3 separate regions of the Homo sapiens genome follow, and all the other regions are linked to region 2. Evidence: promoter capture Hi-C in 16 types of primary human blood cells and fetal thymus (Javierre and others, 2016). All regions are on one chromosome and are shown on one strand. The core of a region is centred on a gene start or on the middle of the fragment in contact, and the rest is flanking DNA. Distances in the headings are between cores, read along the strand shown. Region 1 has its middle 6.8 kb from the start of TMT1B. Region 2 holds the start of PYM1 (PYM1 exon junction complex associated factor). Region 3 holds the start of BLOC1S1 (biogenesis of lysosomal organelles complex 1 subunit 1).

Region 1 (3,770 bases), core at 397-2,896, 250 kb after region 2:
AGCAACATATGACTTAACATGTGACTGTATATTCAGAGTTGTGCAACCAGCCACCACAATCAATTTTAGAACATTTTCGTTACCCCAAAAGAAACTTGTGCTTTTACCACTTACTCCCATTTCCCCCATCCCCATCCCAACCCCAGTACCATCAATTTCCTTTCCGTAGGCAATCACTACTCTACTTATGTCTGTATGGATTTACTTATTCTTGACATTTCATGTAATTGGAATCATACTACATGTGGCCTATGTGACTGGCTTTTCACACAGCATAATGCTTCCAAAGTTTACACATGTTGTAGCATGTATCAATACTTCATTCCTTTTACGTCCAAGTAGCATTGCATTGTACAGATATGCCACATTTTGTTTATTTATTCAACAGTTGATAGACATTTGGGTTGTTTCCACTTTTGGGGTACTATAAACAATGCTGCTATGAATTCTTGTCTTCATTTTATCTTTCTTTCTCCTAAATCATTAATCTCTGCCTTTCCATGGATCTTTCAAAATATGAATATGCTCTAATATATTTCAGGTTAATAATAAACTGACCCTCTTGACACCACATGTCACTTTAGCTAAAACTCCATTTTACAAATCTATGTCAAAGTCTTTTTTTTTTGGCAGGATCTTGCTCTGTTGCCTAGGCTGGAGTGCACCATTCTGACTCACTGCAGCCTCAAACTCCTGGGGTTGTGCTGCCCTTCCTGCTTCAGCCTCTTGAGTAGCTAGGACTATAGGTGCATACCACCATGCCTACTAACTTTTAAAAATTTTTGTAGAGACAGGGTATCTCTCAGGGTTGCCCAGGCTGATCTTGAACTCCTGGCCTCAAGCCATCCTCCTGTCTTGGTCTCCCAAAGTGCTGGGATTACAGGCGTGAGCTACTGTGCCAAGCCCAAGAAATTTTTATTAGTGATGGATTGGAGTGGGAGAAAGAGTGAATGGAAGGTGAGGAAACCAAGATAACACGAGCAGATGACTCAAGAATTATGACTTTGGGCGGGCGTGGTGGCTCGTGCCTGTAATCCAAGTACTTTGGGAGGCCGAGAGGAAATGACTGCTTGAGCCCAGGAGTTTGAGACCAGCTTGGGCAACATAGGCTGTTGTTTTTCTCTACAAAAAATAAAAAAATTAGCCAATTAGCCGGGTGTGGTGGCATGCGCCTGTAGCCCCAGCTACTTAGGAGGCAGAGGCAAGGGGATTGCTTGAGCCTGCAAGTTCAGGGTTACAGTGAACCATGACTGGGTCAGTGTACTCCAGCCTGGGAGACAGAGAGAGACCCTGTCTCTAAAAACAAAACAAAACAAAACAAAGAAACCCGAAACTATTATTATCAAGCCTATTAATTATTTCCACATGCCAGGTCCAGTGAATATTCCCTGTTCTCATCTTATCTGACTTTTCAACAGCTTCAGAAATAGTTGGCTACTATTTCTTCTTGAAAAATTCTCTCATCTAGGCTGTCCTAACATAACAGTCTTCTTGTTTCTATAACATTCCCGTGGCTGTTACTTCTTAGAAACTTCTTTTTTTAGATCTTTCTCATCTACTCGACCTTTAAATTTTGTTTCTTTGGGTTTAGTCTTGGGTCTTTCTCTGTCTAAATTCTCTCATTAAATAACCTCATCTTTTTTTTTTTAATATAGACTTTATTTTTTAGAGCAGTTTTAGCTTCATAGAAAAGTTGAGGAAAGTACAGAGATTTTCCACATACCCTTTGTCCTCACACATGACTAGCCTTCCTCATTATCAGTATCCCCCACCAGAGTGGACATTTATTACAATTGATGAACCTACATTGACACATAATTTTCACCAAATCCCATCCATTTTCATGGTTTAAAATGCCATGTATATGCAAATTATTCACACATTTATATCTTTAGTGCAGATCCTTCCTTTGAGTTTCAAATTTGTATACCCAGTTGTGTACTTGATCCTCCTCCTCAGCATATCTTCTGGACATATAAAACTTAACATGTCCAAAATGACACTTACGGTACTCCCCAAGTCTCTTGTCTTACTCTGCCCATCTTCTTCATCATCTCAGTGAATGGCACCATTAGCTTCTTGATTGCTCAACCAAAAACCTAGGATTTATTCTATTTCTTCTCTGTCTCCTCCTTTTCTTTTCTCATTTCTAACTTTGTATAATGGAGAATTTTGAATATACACAAAAGTTGGCAGAACAGTATAAGATACCCCCATGTATACATCATTCATCCCAACAACTATCAACCCACAGCCAATCCTTCCCCATCCACATCCTTTTCTACTTTCTGCTTCCTTCTCCTGTGTGTCATTTTGAAGCAAATCCCAAACATCATGTCATTTCATCTCCATCTGTATCTCTCTATAACATATATATGACTTTCTTTTCTTTTCTTTTTTTTTGAGGCAGAGTCCCGCTCTTTTGCTAGGCTGGAGTGCAGTGGGGCGATCTCGGCTCACTGCAACCTCCGCCTCCTGGGTTCAAGCAATTCTCCTGCCTCAGCCTCCTGAGTAGCTGGGACTACAGGCACGCACCACCACACCCAGCTAATTTTTGTATTTTTAGTAGAGACAGGGTTTCACCATGTTGACCAGGATGGTCTCGATCTCTTGACCTCGTGATCTGCCTGCCTTGGCCTCCAAAAGTGCTGGGATTACAGGTGTGAGCCACCGCGCCCGGCCAATATATATATAACTTTCAAGTTACTCACAAGTCCTGTCAGCTCTATTTCCCAGTTCATTAATTTCATGCATTTCTTTCATCTCCACTGGCATAACCCTAGACCAGATCATGACCCTCCGCTGCCTGGCCCACTGCAAGGGCCTCATTAACTGTCTCTCCACTTTCACCCACTGCTTAAAACCTTTTAGTGGATTCCCATTATCTTTGGTACAAAATCTGAACTCCTTACTGTAGCCCATAAGGCCCTGTGTGATCTGGCCCCTGTCCACCTCTCATGCTACCCTCCCTTAACCCTGTGTTTTAGCTATACAATCTTCTTTCAGTTCCTCATACTCTCACTCCTTTTAGCTTCAGTGCTGTTGAGCTTGTCTTCCTCTTCCTGATATGCTTGCTTTCTTTTCAGCAGTCCCTCCTCCCTCCTGCCTAGTTAATTTTTTAACTCATTGTTTGGTTCTTGTATCAAGCATCCCTTCCCTTATTCATTTTGGTCAACAGCCCTTAGGCCAGTTTGTGATACTGTTCATGACTGTTATTATGGTATTAGTGTCTGCCCATGAGCTCCATAACAGTAAGGATTGTGTCCTTTTCCCTTATCACCACGTGTTTAGCATCTAGCATGTGCCTGGCAAGTAGTAGACACTAAAAATGTGTATGTCAAATAGATGATGAATACCTTTATCACATTTAAGCTTTTAAATTTTTCTATATTTTAATTTAATTTTATAGATGGTGTATCACTCTGTTGTGTAGGCTGGAGTGCAGTGGCTATTCATATGTGTGATTACAGCACTGTGGCCTCGAACTCCTGCCCTCAAGGGATCCTCCTGCCTCAGCCTCCTGAGTACCTGGGACTACAGGTGTGCACCACCAGGCCTGGCTTGTCTATATTTTAAAATTGGCTGTCTCCTCTAGCATGTTAGCTCTACAATGCCAGAGTATATTTTTCTCTTCATGGTAATATCTTCAGGGCCATTTCTAGTGCCTGTTTCAGGGACCACTCAATACACATTTAGTAGATGTATTAATGAAAGGTCCATATCATTGAGAAAGGACCCATATCATTGAGAAAGGACCCATATCATTGAGA
Region 2 (4,283 bases), core at 1,738-4,237:
ATCTAAGCAGTTCTTGATTGTTTCAAGACAGGCTTGTTGGAACAGACTCCTCCACATTTGCCAGAAATATAGCTGCTGAGTAATAGGGTTTGGGAGTATTGTTGTATCCAAACTGGAGATTTCGGGCATAGGTTGAAGAGGGGTCTGTCTCTCTGCTCCTGTGCCCCTCCAAGTCTCACCCTCTCACCCCCAATCATAAAAAGACAAGGGCCAAAGGCCGGGCGCGGTGGCTCACACCTGTAATCCCAGCACTTTGGCAGGCTGAGGCAGGCGGATCACGAGATCAGGAGATTGAGACCATCCTGGCTAACACGGTGAAAACCTGTCTCTACTAAAAATACAAAAAATTAGCCGGGCGTGGTGGCACATGCCTGTAGTCCCAGTTACTCGCGAGGCTGAGGCAGGAGAATCGCTTGAACCTGGGAGGCAGAGGTTGCAGTGAGCCGAGATCATGCCACTGCACTCCAGCCTGGGTGACACGAGCAAAACTCTGTCTAAAAAAAAAAAAAAAAAAAAAAAAAAACAAGGCCCTTGACACTCCCCATCCTGTCTTTACAGTATTTTCTTCACTGTTAGCAAAGCTTCATCTCTCCTTCCTCTATGACCTCCTTAGTCATAGTAAACAAACTCTTCTGAAGGCCTTTTATACACTAAGTCCTGTACTTAGTTCTGCAATACAAGCAAAAACATAGTCCAGTTTAGGGACTATATCAATGAGTGGTGCAATGTGTGTAAAGCCTCTCTGCTCTGAGCTACTTTAAACAAACATACAATGTAAGAATAGGTCCCCTAACACCTCTGCCTATCAGTTTTCTGTCCCTGGATCTTTCATTTAGAAATCTTGGAACGATATTAATCTCTAAGGCACTCAGCTTTCCTTGCAAAGAATGCTCAAAGTAATGCCACCCTATGTATTACCTGTGTTTCTCACTCTATCGTCTTTAGATATGTCCCTAAATAAAGTTGAAGACACTCCTTTTAAGATAGTTTTTGGTACTTCAAAGTGGGGTGTAATGTTATCTCTCGAATAAGGAATAAGGTGGAATCAGTCTTACTCTAGACTTCTTTGTGTCTTCTTTAGGATCTGTGCTCCATCATACCCCAAGTCAGTTACTGGGGGGTGTGGGTGGGGGAAGAAAAGCCAAGAAACATCTAAGAAGGAGGCGTTTAATGCCTACGGTTCCAGGTGCTCATTTCTTTAATCAACCACATCATAAAAATCAGAAAGAAAGAAACCGCAATGAACAAAGGGAAAGGAAAAAACAACAGCCTGTTCTCCCCGGCCTTTTTTGCCCTGTTCCTCCTCAGGGTGGGGGGCCACATCCGGGGCCCCGGGTTGGGTCCCAGGCAGGTCTACTAAGCAGACAATTGAGTTTCACTTCCTGTCAACCCTAGTGCTGAGGCAGGATGTCTGGGGGTGGGAAGGGGGCCTAGGGTTGGTAGTGAACAGGGGCGACTTTAGGTTTCCCTCCTGCACAAAGGTCTATTGAGCAGCCTCTGAAAGCTGCAGAGACCACTCCTGAGGTAGTTCAGTCAAGACCAACGTATCCCATTAGTTCTTAGAGGCTTCATCCCACACTCTCACGTCTAATCATAACAAGGTTAAGGACAAGATGTTAGACCCTGCAGGGCTGAAGTACAATCGGTGAAAAGAGAGCAAGGGTTTAAGACCACAGTGTCACAACACTTGCAATAACAGTGTATCGTATGCAAATACTTTTTATTTATTTATTTTGAGACTGAGTCTTGCTCTATAATACAAGCTGGAGTGCAGTGGCACGATCTTGGCTCACTGCAACCTCCACCTCCCAGGTTCATTCCTCAGCCTCCCGAGTAGCTGGGATTACAGGCACTCGCCACCACACCCGGCTAATTTTTGTATTTTTAGTAGAGATGGGATTTCACCATGTTGGCCATGGCTGGTCTCGAACTCCTGACCTCAAGTGATCTGCCCACCTGGGCCTCCCAAAGTGCTGGGATTACAGGCATGAGACACCGCACCCGGCCTGGAAATACTTTTTAAATGAGCCCCACCCCCAGACATTCTGAATTGGCCTCTAGTGGAAGTCACAGACATGGAGGATGGGAAGGAAGGCAAGCTGCGGCCCCCAGAAAACTTCTGAGGCCTAATTTGTCTTATAAAGGTCCTAGTCAGCCATTGCTCAGTTTTTTAGTTTTTTTTTTTTTTTTTTTTTTTTTTTTTTGAGACGGGGTCCCACTCTGTCGTCCAAGCTGGAGTGCAGTGGAGCGATCTTGGCTCACTGCAACCTCCGCCTCCCAGATTCAAGAAATTCTCTGCCTCAGCCTCCCGAGTAGCTGAGATTACAGGCACCCGCCACCACGCCCGGCTAATTTTTTTGTATTTTTAGTAGAGACGGGGTTTCGCCATCTTGGCCAGGTTGGTCTTGAACTCCGGACCTCGTGATCCACCCGCCTTGGCCTCCCAAAGTGCTGGGATTACAGGCGTGAGCAACCGCGCCTGGGTTTTGTTTTGTTTTTTAAATGGGACATGCTGCCTAGTGTTGGAGGTAGTCACCAATACTTACCTCCTGCCTCCTCCCTGGTTCCAGGGGTACTGCTGGACATTAAACTAAGCCAAAGTGGGGATATAAGCAGGAAGGTAAAAGGGTTGATAAGGAAAAAGCTATATGAGGGTGGAGGAGGGCAGAGTTGACACCTGAGGAGAGGAACCTGCAGCCGGGCTCCTCTCAGGCTGTAGGGGAAACAAGTTTAACAGGACTTAGCCCTGAAGGAACAACAGTTGCTGAAATGGGCGGCGGAGGGAGACCATATGGGTTCGTCTGCAGAATAGGGAGGTACGGCGCAGGGCAGGACTACAAATGGAGTGACACTACGGGACCGGATTATTGGCGAGTTGCCCCGCTTTAGATCCTCAGCGGTTGGACGAGTTTAATTAGAATACTAAGTAGGTCCGCCCAGAAGCTTTCACCCTGCCCTCTGACCCTAGGGCCCAGCCCGAGGAGGCACTCAGGGTTAGGAGGTCTGGGCGAGAAGCAACTAGGGCCCTCATCACTTCGCCGCCGAATCCCCGGCGCCGCCCAGCGGGGCAGAGCCAGGCCAGGGCCGCCCGCCCAACCTGGTCCGCTGCCTCTTCGGCCATGGAAGCTGCCGGCAGCCCTGCGGCTACGGAGACAGGTGACCGACCCGCGGCGCCCTCCGCCTTGCACGCCCCTCCCGCGGGTCTCTGGTGGTTGAGTGGGTTGGCCGACAGCAATCGGCACACGAATTCGACCTCCCCACCTTCTTAGGGTTAGATAGGGTCTCCAACCGTCCCTAGAAACACTTGTGCGCCCCAGTGCGTTCCTGGAGTTTGTCTGCTCCACGTCACCAAGCCGCTCTGAGATCTGGGTGCAGGCCAGAGCCTGGATATTCTTCCTTTCTTCATTTATAAGGCCCCCTTTTTGGGTGCAGGTGGGCCTTGCGCCCTTTTCCCTCGCAGGTCCTGGACGTACGAGGAGTTCCTGGGGATGAGAGGGACTGTGCCTCGGAACTTCTCTTGGCTCCCTGAGGACTGTTTTACAGGCAGCAAGCGCTCAGTAATGGTATCGGTGGCAGTAAAAAGCCCACGGCTTTATTTTATTAACTATTTCAGCTTCTCCACTCTTCCTCCTCCTCCACCTCCGCCCATGAAATGGTGCACTCTCCCTTTAAGACTAAGATGGTGGCTTGCTACGATCGGGACTCCACTTCCGGTGGGGAGGGGGGCGGGACCCCAGCCCGCTCACGCCGGAAGTGGTTTGCGTTTTCAAGATGGCGACTCCCTATGTTACTGACGAGACCGGCGGTGAGTGCGGGAGGCGCGGAGCCGCTTCTCTCCGGGCTCTCGGGGCAGGGGTTCGGACTTGGAAAGGGGTCTGTGCCCCGCCCATCCCGGGGCCCCTCCTTTGCCCCGCCCCCCGGACCGCCTTCCCCATTCATTCTCTCCTACGGGGTGTCTCCTGCGCCCCCTTCTGGTCTCGTGTTTGGGGTCTCTGCTTCCGGTCACCCAAACCCTGGGGTCCTTCAGTGCTGGTCCCTGCTTCAGGACCCTCACGGGCCCTTAGCTTTTCTCCAGCAGTTGGACCACTCATATCTCTTTTAGGTTCTTCAGGCTTGGGGGCTTCTACACTCTCATTTCCCTCCAGTTCCTGCCCTCCTTCTTTTCCCCTCCCCCATCTCAGCTATACTTGGTTTCTGCCCTACCCCAGTCCCGTTTTCATTATTTTTCTCGAAGCTTTATTTGCTGAAGACCTCCTCGTTTCTACATAGTACCTTTTCCTCTC
Region 3 (2,588 bases), core at 89-2,588, 210 kb after region 2:
AGAGGGTGGGAGGCAGAGGAGAGGGTGGTAAGCTGTAATGAAGGAGGGTGCTCTCCCTCCTGCTGAAGTGACAGCTGGACTTGGAAGGGTGAAGGGAGGTGGGCAGATGGCATCAAGTTGTAAATGCCAGGGAAGTTAACGTGGGGAAGGGGAAATCTGGCTGCTTCTCTAACCACGGCAGCTGTTCCTCCCTTGCCCAGTGCTAGGACTCAGAGTTGACTCAAGTTGCTCTACAAAGAGCTGGGAGGGGCGGGGTAGGATAGGGGAATTAGTGGAACATCCCACCCCTTCAACAGCTATTTGAGGGCCAGACTGGCCAGTGCCTAAACTTGGGCGGGGTGGGGAAGGAGGAAACTGATGTTGATAAGAGGTCCATACCCCACATTGAGGTGATCCACCAAAGCTTCTGTCAGGCAGGTCGCTGCAGTGATAGCCTCTCGCCTCCTCTTTTCTGGGGAGAGGGGGAAAAGGAATTGGAGGGGAGACTTGGTTTTTTGAGGGGTAGTGTTAAAGGTTCCCTACCCATCCATTACTATTCTGCTAGTTGCCGAAATTTCTTAACTAATCTCTGAATGCCGGAGCTGAAAAGGACCTTGCAAAACATAGCGCAACCTCTTTCATTTTAGAGATGAGGAAACTGGTACCCTGGGAGGGAAATGGACTCACTCAGGGACGCCAGGAAGTCAGCGGCAGCGCCCAGGACTCCTGACTCCCAGGCACTCTTTCTCCACTACTCGGCCGCAGAATCGGTAACTCCGAGATTTCCAGCCCGGACTCAGGAAACAAGTGCCCCACCTCCGTTCCGGTGGTTTCAGGCCTCCAAGAAGCCCATCTCTGGGGGGTTCCCCACACCCTCCTCCCTCCAGAGTCGCTCCTTCCCGCCGCCAGGACGAGAGGCTCCCAGGGCCAATAGGCAGGGCGCTCCGGGGCAGGGGCGGGGCTAAGGTGCGGCAGGTCGGGGATTGGGGGCGTTGCCGAGGGGACCGGAGTATTGCCCAAGGGACCGGAGCCAGTTGGCAAGGGAAAGGAGTTTCAAAAAAAGCCTCTCTGAAATTCCCTCTCCCCCATGCCCGTTGCCCGCTAGCTGGCGTCTTTCCCTGGATATGGTTAGTTACTCGAGATCCAGGCTCCGGGCTGAAGCTAGGCCGCGGCCGAAGAGAAAACGGCCGACAGGATATTTGGCTCACCCTGCAGCTCCTTGCGTTCATTCTGCTTGGCCTGGTGTTCTTTTAGGAGGCGGGACAGCATGGTCACGTCGGGCTGGGGGCTGGGTACGCCGGGCCCCCTCCGGCTCCGGAAGCTGGAACGCTCACCTCGGCTCCCCGGGGCCATGTCACGTGACCGCTGTGTCACGTGAGGTTGGGAACCGCCCTCTTGAGACCTTGGGTGAAGATCTTGGCGGGGAAGAGAGGTAGAGGGTTGCGGAGGGCAGGTGAAGTGTTCTTTATTGGGAGCTTAGTTTTTGGTGAGTGTTGGAAGAAGTATTTTCTAATACTTATATTGCCAAGCCAGTTTTTAACATTTCCTGTGGATCTCAGGCTTCGAGGGCTGGTGGTGTCAGGCCGTCTATCACCGTTTAATTGAGGGAGCAGAAGCTCCCTGGCCTCATTTAAATTATTCTCCTTCCCTCTCCTCACCTCCTGGCAGTGCTAGCTGGTTCTCAGTTGATTCCCAGTTCCTTCCCTCAAGGAGAGGATGCTTTCCTGTCTCTCCCAACCCTCTTTCTTCTCACTACCCCACTGAAGTCTCTCAGCTCTGGGTGATCATTGTAGAGAAGCATTTTAGGCACTTCAGACAGCCTCCTAGGGAGCTTGGCTAACTTGGCGGGCTGTGTGAATGTAGAATTTCATCTCTGTCCTTTTGTGGTCAGGAATGCGAACCCATTTCAGTGTTAGCAGAAGCGTAAGTGCTGTGCCAAAGTAAAAAGTAATTTATATAAGGCCTCTGTGAACTAAAAAGAAATGCTTCCGGGATTAACTCCAGCGAGAACAATTATAAACATCATGAGCATATTCTTGCTACTGGTACAATCTCTCTCGGTGCACCTTGCACTAACATGTTGGGTGACTTTGGGCAAGTTGCTCACCATTCTAGGTTATAGTTTTCTCTTTAGTAAAACTAGGAGAAGGGATTGGATTAAATCGGTGGTTCTCAACCCTGGCTAAGCATTAGAATCTAAACATTAGAATCACAGAAATCACAAGGCTTATAAAAATGCCGTGATTAGCCGGGTGCGGTGGCTCACGCCCGTAATCCCAGCACTTTGGGAGGCCGAGGCGGGCGGATCACGAGGTCAGGAGTTCGAGACCAGGCTGACCAACATGGTGAAACCTTGTATCTACTAAAAATACAAAATTTAGCCAGGCGTAGTGGCACAAGCCTGTAATCCCAGCTACTCAGGAGCCTGAGGCAGGAGAATCGCTTGAACCTGGGAGGCAGAGGTTGCAGTGAGCCGAGATCACGCCACTGAACTCCAGCCTGGGCGACAGAGTGGGACTCTGTCTCAAAAAAAAAAAAAAAAAAGCCTTGATTCCAGACTAATTAAATAGAATCTAAGGAGTGAAGACCAAACATCACTATATATATGT

What was found. Contacts are between HindIII fragments. The CHiCAGO score rates a contact against its expected background, and 5 or more counts as called.
Region 1: a contact is called between a fragment that was not itself captured here and the fragment with the promoter of PYM1 in region 2, in 3 of 17 cell types (naive B cells, M2 macrophages and total B cells). The highest score is 5.5, in naive B cells.
Region 3: the fragment with the promoter of BLOC1S1 here is called in contact with the fragment with the promoter of PYM1 in region 2 in 12 of 17 cell types (megakaryocytes, endothelial precursors, erythroblasts and 9 more); the score reaches 8.1 in megakaryocytes.

The regions. Positions count from the first base shown.
Region 1 is chr12:55,673,095-55,676,864 of GRCh38, reverse strand. No RefSeq gene overlaps it. Among named protein-coding and RNA genes, the nearest start is that of TMT1B, 6.8 kb to the left of the region's middle. RefSeq lists an enhancer at 3,108-3,247. The HindIII fragment of the contact is 3,457 bases long and covers 1-3,374 here.
Region 2 is chr12:55,926,598-55,930,880 of GRCh38, reverse strand. It overlaps PYM1 (PYM1 exon junction complex associated factor), which reads left to right and starts at 2,987. Exons shown (of 3, transcript NM_032345.3): 1 at 2,987-3,156. The coding sequence starts at 3,120. It also overlaps a transcript of DGKA not described here. RefSeq lists enhancers at 2,716-3,296, 3,376-3,545, 3,586-3,805, 3,297-3,877 and a silencer at 3,896-4,045. The HindIII fragment of the contact is 1,291 bases long and covers 2,946-4,236 here.
Region 3 is chr12:55,714,796-55,717,383 of GRCh38, reverse strand. It overlaps BLOC1S1 (biogenesis of lysosomal organelles complex 1 subunit 1), which reads right to left and starts at 1,338. Exons shown (of 4, transcript NM_001487.4): 1 at 1,188-1,338; 2 at 379-451. The coding sequence starts at 1,332. It overlaps BLOC1S1-RDH5 (BLOC1S1-RDH5 readthrough), which reads right to left and starts at 1,350. Exons shown (of 6, transcript NR_037658.1): 1 at 1,188-1,350; 2 at 379-451. It also overlaps a transcript of ITGA7 not described here. RefSeq lists enhancers at 634-873, 1,154-1,293. The HindIII fragment of the contact is 4,864 bases long and covers 406-2,588 here.